2 separate regions of the Homo sapiens genome follow, and region 1 is linked to region 2. The links are contacts of gene promoters, found by promoter capture Hi-C in blood cells and fetal thymus (Javierre and others, 2016). All regions are on one chromosome and are shown on one strand. The core of a region is centred on a gene start or on the middle of the fragment in contact, and the rest is flanking DNA. Distances in the headings are between cores, read along the strand shown. Region 1 holds the start of TMEM150B (transmembrane protein 150B). Region 2 holds the start of SHISA7 (shisa family member 7).

Region 1 (6,538 bases), core at 4,021-6,520, 120 kb after region 2:
GTAATCCCAACACTTTGGGAGGCCGAGGCGGGCGGATCACGAGGTCAGGAGATCAAGACCATCCTGAATAACACAGTGGAACCTCATCTCTACTAAACATACAAAAAAAAAAAAAAAAAAATTAGCCGGGCGTGGTGGCGGGCGCCTTTAGTCCCAGCTACTCGGGAGGCTGAGGCAGGAGAATCCTTTGAACCCGGGAGGCGGAGCTTGCAGTGAGCCGAGATCGCGTCACTGCACTCCAGCCTGGGCCAAAGAGCGAGACTCCGTCTCAAAAAAAAAAAAAAAAAGTTAAATTTAATTTTTAAATTATTTATTTATTTATTTATTTATGTATTTATTTATTTATTTTTTGGGACGGAGTCTCGCTCTGTCGCCCAGGCTGGAGTGCGGCGACGCGATCTCGGCTCACTGCAACTGCCGCCTCCCGGGTTCCCGCCGTTCTCCTGCCTCAACCTCCCGGGTAGCTGGGACCACAGGCGCCCGCCACCACGCCCGGCTAATTTTTTTGTATTTTTAGTAGAGATGGGGTTTCACCATGTTAGCCAGGATGGTGTTGATCTCCTGACCTCGTGATCCGCCCGCCTCGGCCTCCCAAAGTGCTGGGATGACAGGCGTGAGCCACGGCGCCCGGCCCACTCTAAGCATTTTAAAGTATAATTCGGTGTCGTCTAGCACAGTCCCAATGTTGTGCAACCTTCGTCTCTATCTAGTTCCAAAACAGTTTCATAACCCCCATAAGGAAACTCCAAATAAGCAATCATTTCCCATCCTCCCCTCTTCCCACCCCTTGCAACCACTGACTTGCTTTCGGTCTCCATGGACTTGCGTATGGGTGATCTTTGCACCACATTTCCCAGCTGACCTGACCGGGGTTCTCAGAACTGCACATGGTCTGTGATTCTTCCACTCTCCCCATCTCCTTTCTCCAGTGTCAGACCCAGACCCACTCACGTTGCAGTCTGAAGTCTCTCCCAGCCACTCCTGGTCTTTCTCCTCCTTTTTCTTTTTTTCTTTTTTTTTTTGTATTTTTAGTAGAGACGGGGTTTCACCATATTGGCCAGGCTGGTCTTGAACTCCTGACCTCGTGATCCGCCTGCCTTGGCCTCCCAAAGTGCTGGGATTACAGGCTTAAGCCACCGCGCCTGGCCTTTCTCCTCCTTTATCCTTCAGCAACCTCATCCCCAGTCAATCTCTTGCTTTTCTTTTCTTTCTTTCTTTTTTGTTTTTTTGAGAGGGAGTTTCGCTCTTGTCGTCCGGGCTGGAGTGTAGTGGCACAATCTCGACTCACTGCAACCTCCACTTCCTGGATTCAAGCGATTCTCCGGCCTCAGCCTCTTGAGTAGCTGGGATTACAGGCGCCCGCCACCATGCCCAGCTAATTTTTGTATTTTTAGTAGAAACGGGGTTTCGCCATATTGGCCAGGCTGGTCTCGAACTCATGACCTCAGGTGATCCACCCGCCTCAGCCTCCCAAAATGCTGGGATTACAGGCGTGAGCCACCGGGCCCGGTCAGACAGGCATTCTTTTAGGGTCTTATGTGGATAACCCCAATAAACCCTCACAATTGCACGAGGGCAGACCATCATGATCCCTGTTTTGCAGACAAGAAAACAGAGGTCCGAGACCCATCTATCTCTAGAGGTGTACATCCCCTCCCTGGGGAAGGTTCTGAGACCTCTGTGTTCCTAGACGTCTACATCCCCTCTCTGGGGAAACTTCCAGGCAGGGGACATAGACATCTAGGGATATAAAAATAAAAATAGGCCGGCCGCGGTGGCTCACGCCTGTAATCCTAGCACTTGGGAGGCCGAGGCGGGTGGAACACCGGATGTCAGGAGTTTGGGACTAGCCTGACCGACATGGAGAAACCCTGTTTCTACTAAAAAAATACAAAATTAGCCGGGTGTGGTGGTGCATGACTGTAATTCCAGCTACTTGGGAGGCTGAGCAGGAGAATCGCTTGAACCCGGGGGCAGAGGTTGCGGTCAGCTGAGATCGCGCCATTGCACTCCAGCCTGGGCAACAAGAGCGAAACTCCGTCTCAAAAATAAAAAATAAAATAAAAAAATAAAAATAAAAATAAAAACCAGTCCCCACCACCAACCACAAGCGGTTTCCTCAATATGAAAGTGCAACGTCATCTTTCTCAGAGGAAAAGCACAGCCTCTTCCCCTCGGCTGAGCCAGGCCAGCAGCCCTAGCTTCTGGAAGGATCCTTCAGGCTCCAGACACCCAACCTACCCGTGGCCGGTGAGTGGGGCCTAATTCCCAACTTGAAAGTAGCTCGGCAGGCTGGAGCCCTGTCCCCTGTCCTCCCAGGGAGGGTCCAAGCAGGTCACATAAGCACCGTGGGGACACCAGTGAGCCAAACTCATCTTTGTGCCAGGACACCGAGTTGGGTATGGAGGCTCAGAGCGGGGACAAGTCTTCCTTAGGATCACCTGGGCTTTCTCGTCTTTATTATTATTATGTTTTTGGAAGAGAAGTGGGAATCAGCCAGGTGGCAAACACAGGACAGGGCAGGGCAGGAGATCAGTGTTGAGGGCCGACGGAGGAGCAGGTAGCATGGACCCCTCCCTCCCCTGGGCTCCCTCATAGCTTTGTGTGACTTCCTTTAGAGGAGCTGTCACCTGCTGATCATCTGTGTTGCCCACAGACAGGGATTCCCCTGAGGGCAGGGGGTGGCTCAGATTCATGTCTGGGCAAACGGAGACCTCCGGAAAAAGAAGCGAAAGGAGGAAGACGAGACCCAGAGGAGAGGCATTTGGCAGCAGAAGGGGTGAGGAGGACTTGGAGAGCTTTGCCCTCTATCAGCCCCACTGGGACAGGATTTATTTTTTATTTTATTTATTTATTTTATTTTATTTATTTTTGGAGACGGAGTCTCACTCTGTCGCCCAGGCTGGAATGCAGTGGTGCGATCTCGGCTCACTGCAACCTCCGCCTCCTGGGTTCAAGCGATTCTCCTGCCTCAGCCTCCCGAGTAGCTGGGATTACAGGTGCCTGCCACCACACCCGGCTAATTTTTGTATTTTTAGTAGAGACGGGGTTTCACTATGTTGGCCAGGCTGGTCTCAAACTCCTGATCTCATGATCTGCCCACCTCGGCCTCCCAAAGTGCTGGGATTGCAGGCGTGAGCCACCATGCCCGGCCACCCAGCTAATTTTTTTTTGTATTTTTAGTAGAGACAGGTTTTCACCATGTTGGCCAGGCTGGTCTCGATCTCCTGACCTCAGGTGATCCACCTGCCTCAGCCTCCCAAAGTGCTGGGACTACAGGCGTCAGCCACCTTGCCCAGCCGACCCTGGCTGTTTAAAAAATAAAAATAAAAAATAAAGGAATGAAACACTAATACATGCCACAACATGGATGAATCTCAAAAACATTACACTGAGCATAAAATACACCAGACGGGTTGGGCGCGATGGCTTCCGCCTGTAATCCCAGCACTTTGGGAGGCTGAGGCAGGGGGATCACTTGAGGTCAGCATTTTGAGGCCAGCCTGGCCAACATGGTGAAACTCTGTCTTTATCAAAAAATGCAAAAATTAGCCAGGCATAGTGGCGGGCACCTGTAATCCCAGCTACTTGGGAGGCTGAGGCATGAGAATCACTTGAACCCAGGAGGTGGAGGTCCCAGTGAGCCAAGATTGTGCCACTGCACTCCAGCCTGGGCAACAGAGGGAGACTCTGTTTCAGAAAAAAAAAAAAAAAAAAAAGGTTGGGCGCAGTGTCTCACGCCTGTAATCCCAGCACTTTGGGAGCCTGAGGCGGGTGGATCACCTGAGGTTGGGAGTTCGAGACCAGCCTGGCCAACATGGTGAAACCCCATCTCTACTAAAAATACAAAAATTAGCCAGGCATGGTGGCACCGGCCTGTAATCCCAGCTCCTCAGGAGGCTGAGGCAGGAGAATCACTTGAACCCGGGAAGCAGAGGTTGCAGTGAGCCGAAATTGCGCCACTGCACTCCAATCTGGGTGACAGAGGGAGACTCTGTCTCAAAAAAAAAAAAAGAAAGAGGCGATGGTTGCATAACATTGGGAGTGCACTAATGTCGCTGAGTCGCACATTTTTTTTTTCTTTTTTCTGAGACAGAGTTTTGCTCTTGTCACCCAGGCTGGAGTCCAATGGCATGATCTGGACTGACTGCAACTTCTGCTTCCCAGGTTCAAGGGATTCTCCTGCCTCAGCCTCCGGAGTAGCTGGGATTACAGGCTCCCGCCACCACACCCAGCTAATTTTTGCATTTTTAGTAGAGATGGGGTTTCACCATGTTGGCCAGGCTAGTCTCAAACACCTGACTCCAGATGATCTGCCCACCTTGGTCTCCCAAACTGCTGGGATTACAGGCGTGAGCCGCCGTGCCTGGCCGAGTCGTACACTTTAAAATGGCTAATGTTATGTGGATTTTATGTCCATTAAAAGACACGAGGTGGCATAGTGAGAGAGGAGGTGGCTGGGACTTCTGTGTCTAAGGGAAGAGTTCTGGGGGCCTGGACTCCTGCATTTTGGGGAAGGAGGAAGGAGTTGGAGCTTGGACTCCTGGGTCCCCAAGGGTGGAGGCTCCGATCTGAGTCCAGGGGAGGATAGGGCTGAGAGTTTGGATGTTGAATACACAAAGCTGGAGGAAGGAAATTAGGGTCCCCCAAAGCTACGGTGCTGCCTGTGAGGTTCTAAGGAGACAGGACACGGTGGTTTGGGGACAGAGAGCCGTTAGGAAGTGGCAGTCAGACCAAAGGACCCAGGCAGTCCTGCAGCCTGGACTTTGCCTCTGCAGGATGTCTGCCTGAGCCCCACCCCGAATGCCAGCCCTTCTTCCCTGAGCTCACCCAGCCCCAGCTCCAGGACTGAGAGCCCCAGGAAGCTTGGAGAGGTGAGCATCCTGGGGAGGCCCTGGAGGCTGGGAGGTGCACGGAGGGGCTGGGAGGGCAGGGAGAAACTCCCCAAGCAGGAGAATGTGTGAGCTAGGACTGAACACTGAAACAGGTGAAGAGATTGCTTGGAGTGGAGGACAGCTGGCCGATTAGATCAGACCCCCACCCGTGACGTCTGCCTGAGAGCCAATGGGGGCCCAGAGGCCGTGGCCACAATCTCATGCACCTGGGCCCTCCCCAAGGGGCTGGTTCTTCAGGTGTGAAGGGGAGGAGAGAGAAAGAGGAAAGCGAGAGGGGCCCAGCTTCAGCCCCTCTCATTCTCCTGCAGAGCCCAGCATGTGAGGCTTACCTGTCCCTGTCCCTGCTGGCTGGGCTATCTTGGGGTCTGGACCTCGTGAGTGTCAGAGGCAGGAGGGACTCCGGAGTCTAAGGAAGGAGGGCCTAGAGGTCTGACCCTGGGTCTGAGGGAGGAGGGGCTGAGGGACTGGACTCCTGGGTCCTGGGAAGAAGGAAGAGGCCATGACTCCAAATCCCTAAATACCAAGCCAGGAGGAGGTCAGAAGCTGAAGATGGCTGTTGGGAGAGAGAAGGAAAAGGGTCAGGCGGCAGGAGCAGTCTTTGTCTGGCTGGGGGAATTTTCGGATGGAGATGTCATCGCTGAAAGCTCCCTTCCCACCCATGCTCAGCCTGCCTGGGGAACTCCAGCAGGCAAAAGGAGAAGGGTGAGAGGAAGGAGAGTGGAGGGGAGGAGGCAGGGTTGTCAGTGCTCCATATCTCCCAGCCCCAAAACAGAAGCTTCACCCAGAGAGCAGGCCGACCTGAGGCCCTCACTCTTGGGTACCCGAGTAGGTAAGAGCTGGGAGGTTGGACATCAGGAGCTGGAGAAGAATATCTGTATTCTAGGAGGAACTGGGGCCCCGGAATTCTGGGTCTTCCAGGCTGGAGAGAGCTGGAGGCTCAGATTCCTGGTTCCTGGGGAGGGAAGGGCTGAGACTTTGGACGTTGAACCCACAAAGCTGGAGGAAGGAAGTTAGGGGCCCCTGAAGCTAAGGTGCTGCCTGCTAGGTTCTGAGGAGGGAGGACATGGCGGTTTGGAGGTAGAGAGCCCCTCAGGAAGTGTTGGTCAGACCCAAGACCCCAGGCAGCCCTCCAGCGCTCCAGCTGGGACTTTGCCTCTGCCTTGGCCTGTCTGAGCCCCATCCCGAATGCCAGCCCTTCTTCCCTAAGCTCACCCAGCCCCAGTCCCAGGACTGAGAGCCCCAGGGATCTTGGAGAGGTGAGCATCTCCAGGAGGTCCTGGAGGCTGGGAGGTGCAAGGAGAGGCTGGGAGGTGCAAGGAGGGGCTGGGAGGACAGGGAGAAATTCCTCAAGCAGGAGAATGCGTGAGATAGGGTTGAACACTGCGGGATAGGTGGGGAAATTGCCTGGAAATGGAGAGCTGGCCAATCAGATCAGACCCCTACAGGTGACTTCTGCCTGAGAGCCAAGCGGGGCCTAGTGGTTGGGGCCACAATCTCATGCACCTGGGCCCTCCTTGAGGGCTGGTTCTTCAGGTGTGAGAGAGACAGGTGTCCAGCCTCAGCCCCGATCCTTCACCTGCAGAGCCCGGCATGTGGGGCTACCTGTCGCTGATGCCTGTCTTCCTAGCTGTCTGGGCTATCTC
Region 2 (6,701 bases), core at 3,182-5,681:
AGGTCTGTGGTTTGGCACGCAGATGGCACCCTTGTGTGAGCTTGGAAGGGGCACTCCTTACCCCAAATGGATGCAGCCCCACTGGCACACGCCCTGGGAAGCAGAGCCCAGCAGGATTTCAGCCTCTCAGCCAGACCCCCTTGTGCAGTGCACGACCTGCCCAACCCTACATGGTAGCCCTCAATGAATGAAGGAATCTGCAGTGCTGCATGCATGTGCCACTTCTGGAAGGGATGTGTCTCTGTGTGGGGGAAAAAGGCATCCATGCTGTACAGGTCACAGTGCTCAGAGACCTGAGTTCAAAGCCCAGCCCCACTCTTTGGGCACCTTGGGTCTCAGGCAAATGATGTGACCTCTCGGAACCTCAGCGTCCTCATCTGAAATGAGTGTGTCAGTACACACACATGTGGCCAGCAGAGATGACAGCTATGAAAGTTGCAAAGCAAGTGAGGAATTGGGAGCATGTCTGGGGCTGCTGTTACCGCTAGGACAGGAAGGCTGGCTGAAATGACATGCTAGGGACACCCTGAAGGAAGGGAGAAAGGAGGCAGGTCAGAGCAGGATCTGTGGAAAGGAAGGGGCTCCCAGACGAAGGAAACAGCACGTGCACAGGCAGGAAGGTGGAGCGTCTTGAGCATGAACTTGGAAGGTATGAAGGGAAAAGGAAAGGATGAGAAGAGGAGCTACTGGCAGAGTTGGGGTTTTATTCCAGGTGTGACAGGGAACCAGAATGCGGACAGGGGAGTGGTTGATGCCATTTGACGTGTTTCCTTTTTTTTTTTTTTTTTTTTTTTTTTGAGATGGAGTCTCACGCTGTCACCCTGGCTGGAGTGCAGTGGTGTGATCTCAGCTCACTGCAACCTGAGCCTCCGGGGTTCAAGCGATTCTCCTTCCTCAGCTTCCCGAGTAGCTGGAATTAAAGGCGCCCGCCACTGCGCCGGGCTCATTTTTGTACTTTTAGTAGTGACAGTGTTTCACCATGTTTGCCAGGCTGGTCTCAAACTCCTGACCTCAAGTGATCCGCCTGCCTCGGCCTCCCAAAGTGCTGGGATTACAGGCGTGAGCAACCATGCCAGTCCCTGTTACCTTTTTAATTGTGGGGAAATACACCATTTAACCATTCTCAAAGTGTTTGATTCGGTGGCATTAGCGTATCCATCAGGTTGTGGAGCCATCACCACTATTTAGTTCCAGGGTATTTTCCTCACCACACAAGGAAGCCTGGCCACCCTTTAGCGGTCACCCCCCATCCTCCTGTCCCCAGCTCCGGGCAATTATTAATCGGCTTTCAGTCTCTGTGGATTTGACTATTGTGATATTTCATATTAATGAAATCATACACTACATGAGATTTATGGCTGGACTTTTCCACTGAACGTCATGTCTTCAAGGTTCGTGCATGCTGTGGCTTGTATCTCAGCCCTTGGTACCTGTCACGGTTGAGTAATATTCTGTGGCATGGGTAGGCCGTCGTTGGTTTGTCCGTTCCTCCATAATGGGTGATTGCATTGTTTGCAGTATTTGGCTGTTGTGCAAGGTGCTGTTATGAACATTCAAGGATAAGGTTTTGTGTGGACACATGTTTTGAATTCTTTGGGGTAGACACTGCAGAGTGGAAGTGCATGGTAATCCTAGTTAACTTCTTTTTTTTTTTTTTTTTTTTGAGACGACGTCTCACTCTGTCAGCCCAGGCTGGAGTGCAGTGGCACGATCTCTGCTCACTGCAAGCTCCACCTCCGGGGTTCACGCCATTCTTCTGCCTCAGCCTCCCGAGTAGCTGGGACTACAGGCGCCCGCCACCACGCCCGGCTAATTTTTTGTAATTTTAGTAGAGACGGGGTTTCACCGTGTTAGCCAGGATGGTCTCGATCTCCTGACCTCGTGATCCACCCGCCTCAGCTTCCCAAAGTGCTGGGATTACAGGCATGAGCCACCGCACCCGGCCAACTTTTTTTTTTTTTTTTGAGACGGAGTCTCACTCTGTTGCCCAGGCTGGAGTACAGTGAGTGCAATGACATAATCTCGGCTCACTGCAACCTCCACTTCCGGAGTTCAAGCGATTCTCCTGCTTCAGCCTCCTGAGTAGCTGGGACTACAGGCGCACGCCACCATGCCCGGCTAGTTATTTTTGTATTTTTAGTAGAGACGGGGTTTCGTCATATTGGCCAAGCTGGTCTTGCAAGTGATCATATTGGCCAGGCTGACCGCAAGTGATCCGCCCACCTTGGCCTCCGAAAGTGCTGGGATTACAGGCGTGAGCCACCGCGCCTGGACCAATTCTAGTTAACTTTTTAAGGAACCGCCAAACTCTCTTCCACAGTGTGGGGTCAAGCCACTTCTAAGACTCCCATTAAACACCCAGGAGGAAGTGTCCAGTGGGCAGTGGGGTATTCTAGCACCGAGTCAGGGGAGGGGTCCAAGCTGGAGCTGAAAAGGAAAGGTGAGGCCCCAAGCAGGAGGGCGATGGAGCTCACTGAGGCTCTGGAAGGTTCACCTTCCAACCCTCTGCCCATCCCCACCAGCAGCAATGTTGTTGACAGTGGTGTGGTCCCTAGACACACACACGATGGATGGTGGCATATAATAGAAAATAACACCGAGTGATATTTATTGACTCAATCCCATCCACCCCCTCCATCCCTTTATGCTGCTTTCATTTCTTCACGGCTTCCTTCATCATTCCTTTTTATTTCTTCACAATTGGCGTCAACATGTGTCCCATTCATTTGTGTCCATCTGCTGACTGTCCCCCCTCACTAGCACGTAAACCCCCGTAAAGGCAGGAACCCTGTGGGCTTACTCACTGCTGCATCCTCAGCCCAGGGAGGCTGCTCAGGAGACATTTATTGAATGAAGATTTGCAGAACGAATGCACACCCCGCGCATCATGCCTGCTCCTGGGAAGCTCTATGGCAGCCTCTCGGCAGCTAGCTCAGGGCAGGGGCTGTTCAGATCAGGTTCTTGCAGAGAGGAAATGTAAGACTCCGTGGGCAGTCACCCCAGACCCCTGGGGGGTTCCTCCTGCAGGTAGAGCTCAGACGTTTCCTTCTCCCGGAACCCGAGGCCAGGCATCCTTCCCACCTCTATCATCCCTCTAGGTCCACGGGGGTGGGCGTGTCTGGGACTTGGCTGGACTGTTGCCATAGAAACAGCTGGAAGACGTGCCCACCACCACCACCACCAACTCCCACCTCTCTTCTGCATCACCTTTTCTCTCTCTTTTGAGACAGGGTCTCACTCTGTCAACTCAGGCTGGAGTGCGGTGGTGAAATCACAGCTCCCAGCAGCCTTGATCTCTGGGACTCAAGTTATCCTCCCACCTCAGCGTCCTGAGTACCTGGGACTATAGGTGCGCACGACCACGCCGGGCTAATTTTTTTTTTTTTTTTTTTTGTAAAGACACGGTTTTGCTGTGTTGGCGAGGCTGGCTGGTCTCCTGCTTGAGCAATTTGCCCACCTTGGCCTCCCAGAGTGCTGGGATTTACAGGCGTGAGCCGCCGCACCCGGACGACCCTTTCTCAGCCTGTATCTCCCTTCTGAAATAGCAGCAGCAGCAAACACTTTCATATTTCACCTGCAATATGCCAGGCACTGTTCTAAGCTCTTTACACATATTCCCTCAGTTCATCCTCCTGACCACTCAGAGATAACCATCCTTATCCCCATTTTACAGATGGGGGACTTGGGGCACAGGGAGCTTAGATAAGAGCCTGTCAGTGTCAGGCAGCTGGCAGGAGGTCCAGTCGGCAGGGGAACCACCCTGCTGTGGTTGTGGTTCAGCTGTGGACAGAGACCCTTCAAACCCGACGCCGTAACAGTGGTGTGTGTGTGCGTGTGCATGCCAGGGAGAGAGAGAGAGAGAGGGAGAGAGAGGGAGGGAGGGAGGGCACCTAAGATCCCTTGATTATCAGATCTAACTAAGGGAGAGAAATTGGCATTTCGGGGCACTGAGGACCATAGGGGTGTAAGTCAGTGGTTCTCCACGGGGGCAGCTGTGGCCTCCTCCCACCAGGGGAACATTTGGCAATGCCTGGAAACATCTTACATTGTCACAACTCGGGGGAATGTGGTGCTGCTGGCATGGAGAGGGCGCTGCTAAACATCCTACAGCGCTCAGGACAGGCGCTCACCACAAAGCAGCATCGGTCCCCGAATGTCAGTGTTGAAAAACCGTGCACTGCCTCTTCCCACTTGCCTGGTCTATAAACTCAAATTCTCAACTTCTCTCTCTCCTCCTCCCTCCCTCTCCTCCCCCTCCTCCTCCTCCCCTTCTTTTCTCCCTCCTTCCCCGTCTCCCTGACTCCTCCTTTCCCACCCACCCCTCATCTGTCTCGCTTCCTTCCCTCCCTCCGCGGTCCCCACTCCCCTCGCCACCCTCCCCTCCCCTTCGCGCGCCTCCCTCCAGCTGCCTCCCCTGCCCTCTCCTCTTCGCCGCCCCCGTTTCTTCTCCTTACATCGCGCCTCGCCTCGCTCCTCGTCCTAATGTCTGCACACCCCTCTGGTGTCTGTCGACCCTCCCAATCGCTTCTCCCGCATTCATCTCTCGCCTGATCCCGGTTCTGTCCGCCCATGCTCATTTCTCTCCCCCAGCCGTGCCCGGGCGCGTTTCCATTACTCTCCCATCGTCGCCCACCGCGCGTGGGGCGGCCAACTTGGGCCCACGCAGCTCAGCTCCCTCCGCCCTTCCTGCCTCCTGGCGCCTGTTGCTCCCCACACTCTGCCGCCCCCCGCCCGCCCTCCCCAGCCTCTCTGCCCACCCATCTCTACGTTTCTCACCCTCTGACCGTTTCTCTCCCGCCCAGCGCTCCAACCTCTGCTCTCGTTCTCCCCGCAGCCTGGCGGCCCAGTGCGACCCCCTGCAAGCCCCATGCCGGCCCTCCTGCTCCTCGTACTCCTGGCCTCTAGCGCCGGCCAGGCCAGGGCGCGCCCGTCCAACGCCACGAGCGCCGAGCCCGCGGGCCCGCTGCCCGCCCTGCTGGCGCACCTGCGGCGCCTGACCGGGGCGCTGACGGGCGGCGGGGGCGCGGCGAGCCCAGGCGCCAACGGCACCAGGACCGGCCCCGCGGGCGGGGCGGGCGCGGCGGCCCGGGCGCCCCCTCCCGCCGAGCTCTGCCACGGCTACTACGATGTCATGGGCCAGTACGACGCCACCTTCAACTGCAGCACCGGCTCCTACCGCTTCTGCTGTGGCACCTGCCACTACCGCTTCTGCTGTGAGCACCGTCACATGCGCCTGGCGCAGGCCTCCTGCTCCAACTACGACACGCCGCGCTGGGCCACCACGCCGCCGCCGCTAGCTGGGGGCGCCGGGGGCGCTGGGGGTGCGGGCGGGGGGCCAGGGCCCGGCCAGGCCGGGTGGTTGGAAGGGGGCCGGACTGGGGGTGCCGGGGGCCGCGGGGGCGAGGGCCCCGGGGGCAGCACAGCCTACGTCGTGTGCGGGGTCATCAGCTTCGCCCTGGCCGTGGGCGTCGGCGCCAAAGTGGCCTTCAGCAAGGCGTCCCGTGCGCCCCGGGCGCACCGGGATATCAACGTGCCCAGGTGCGTGTGCTCTCGGGCGGGAGGACTGCGAGCCTGGGGCGGGGCCCAGCAAGGGAGGTGGAGCCATCCGAGGAGGAGGGGCTGCAGGGATAGGGCGTGGTGGTCAGAGACCCAGGTGGCGGCCGCCGGCGTAGCTGAAGGTGGGCAGGGGCTGAGAAAGTCGCGCCAGAGCCGGCCCGGCTGTTGCGGAGTGATGCAGGGAGAGGGAGAAGCCCAGACTCTCATTCATTCGACACATATTTCTTGAGCACCTTCTGTGGGCCAGGAGCTGGGGATACACCAGTGAACAAAACAAGGTCTCTGCCCTGGTGGAAAAGCCTGACTTCCAAATCCAAGTTCACAGCCTACAGGCTATGTGACAGTGGATGAGTTGCTTAACGTCTCTGTTCCTCAGTTTCCTGTCCGCACAATGAGACTAATCATCGTCCCCACCTATTCGGATTGTAATTAACTGAGTTGATTCGTGCAGGGTCCTGGCACACGGTAAGGGCTCATTAACTATCAGTGGCCCAGTCCGTAAGCATGTGCAGTGTAATTTTAGATGACTGCTGTGAAGAAAATCAGCGGAAAGTGTTGAGAGAGAGGGCGCTGGATTAGAGGAAGTGATCCGAAAAGGCCTCTGAACGGAGACCCGAAGGGAGGGAGCGAACCACGCAGAGATCTGTGGGCGAGAGGTTTTGGGCAGGGGAACCGCGTGCAAAGGCCCTCGGTGGCCTGCAGGGCAGGGAAGCGCCCGTGCAGCTGGCGGCGGTGGGCAGCAGGAGGTGAGGAGAAGTAGGCGGGCCCGGGTTTATCCTAAGTGTGATGGGGCCACTGCAGGGTCCTGAGCTCGGGCGTGATGCCATCTGTCCATTTTTTAAATTATGCGGGCTGCGCGTGAGACTGGAGTGTACGGGGCTAGGGTGGGAGTGGGGAGACCCGTGAGGGGGCTGTTGCAATGATCCAGGTGAGAGATTGCAGAGGTGGTGAGTAGTGGTCTGATTTGGGATATGTTTTGGAGGTTCGATCCGTAGGATTGCTGAAAGGTATGAAGGTGGGGGAAAGAAGAGTCAAGGTGATTTAATGTTTGAGGTCCGCATCACTGGGTAAATGGAGCACCCTTTGTTGCCATGGGGAAGGCTGCAAAAGGAACGGGAATGGGGTCCCAGATTCAGGGTGGGGCG

What was found. Contacts are between HindIII fragments. The CHiCAGO score rates a contact against its expected background, and 5 or more counts as called.
Region 1: a fragment that was not itself captured here is called in contact with the fragment with the promoter of SHISA7 in region 2 in 1 of 17 cell types (naive CD8 T cells); the score reaches 5.4 in naive CD8 T cells.

Annotation. Positions count from the first base shown.
Region 1 is chr19:55,320,984-55,327,521 of GRCh38, reverse strand. It overlaps TMEM150B (transmembrane protein 150B), which reads left to right and starts at 2,181. Exons shown (of 8, transcript NM_001282011.2): 1 at 2,181-2,250; 2 at 4,779-4,874; 3 at 6,429-6,538. The coding sequence starts at 6,486. The HindIII fragment of the contact is 805 bases long and covers 4,868-5,672 here.
Region 2 is chr19:55,441,030-55,447,730 of GRCh38, reverse strand. It overlaps SHISA7 (shisa family member 7), which reads left to right and starts at 4,431. Exons shown (of 4, transcript NM_001145176.2): 1 at 4,431-5,538. The coding sequence starts at 4,868. RefSeq lists silencers at 395-689, 5,528-5,617 and an enhancer at 5,111-5,739. The HindIII fragment of the contact is 48,275 bases long and covers 1-6,701 here.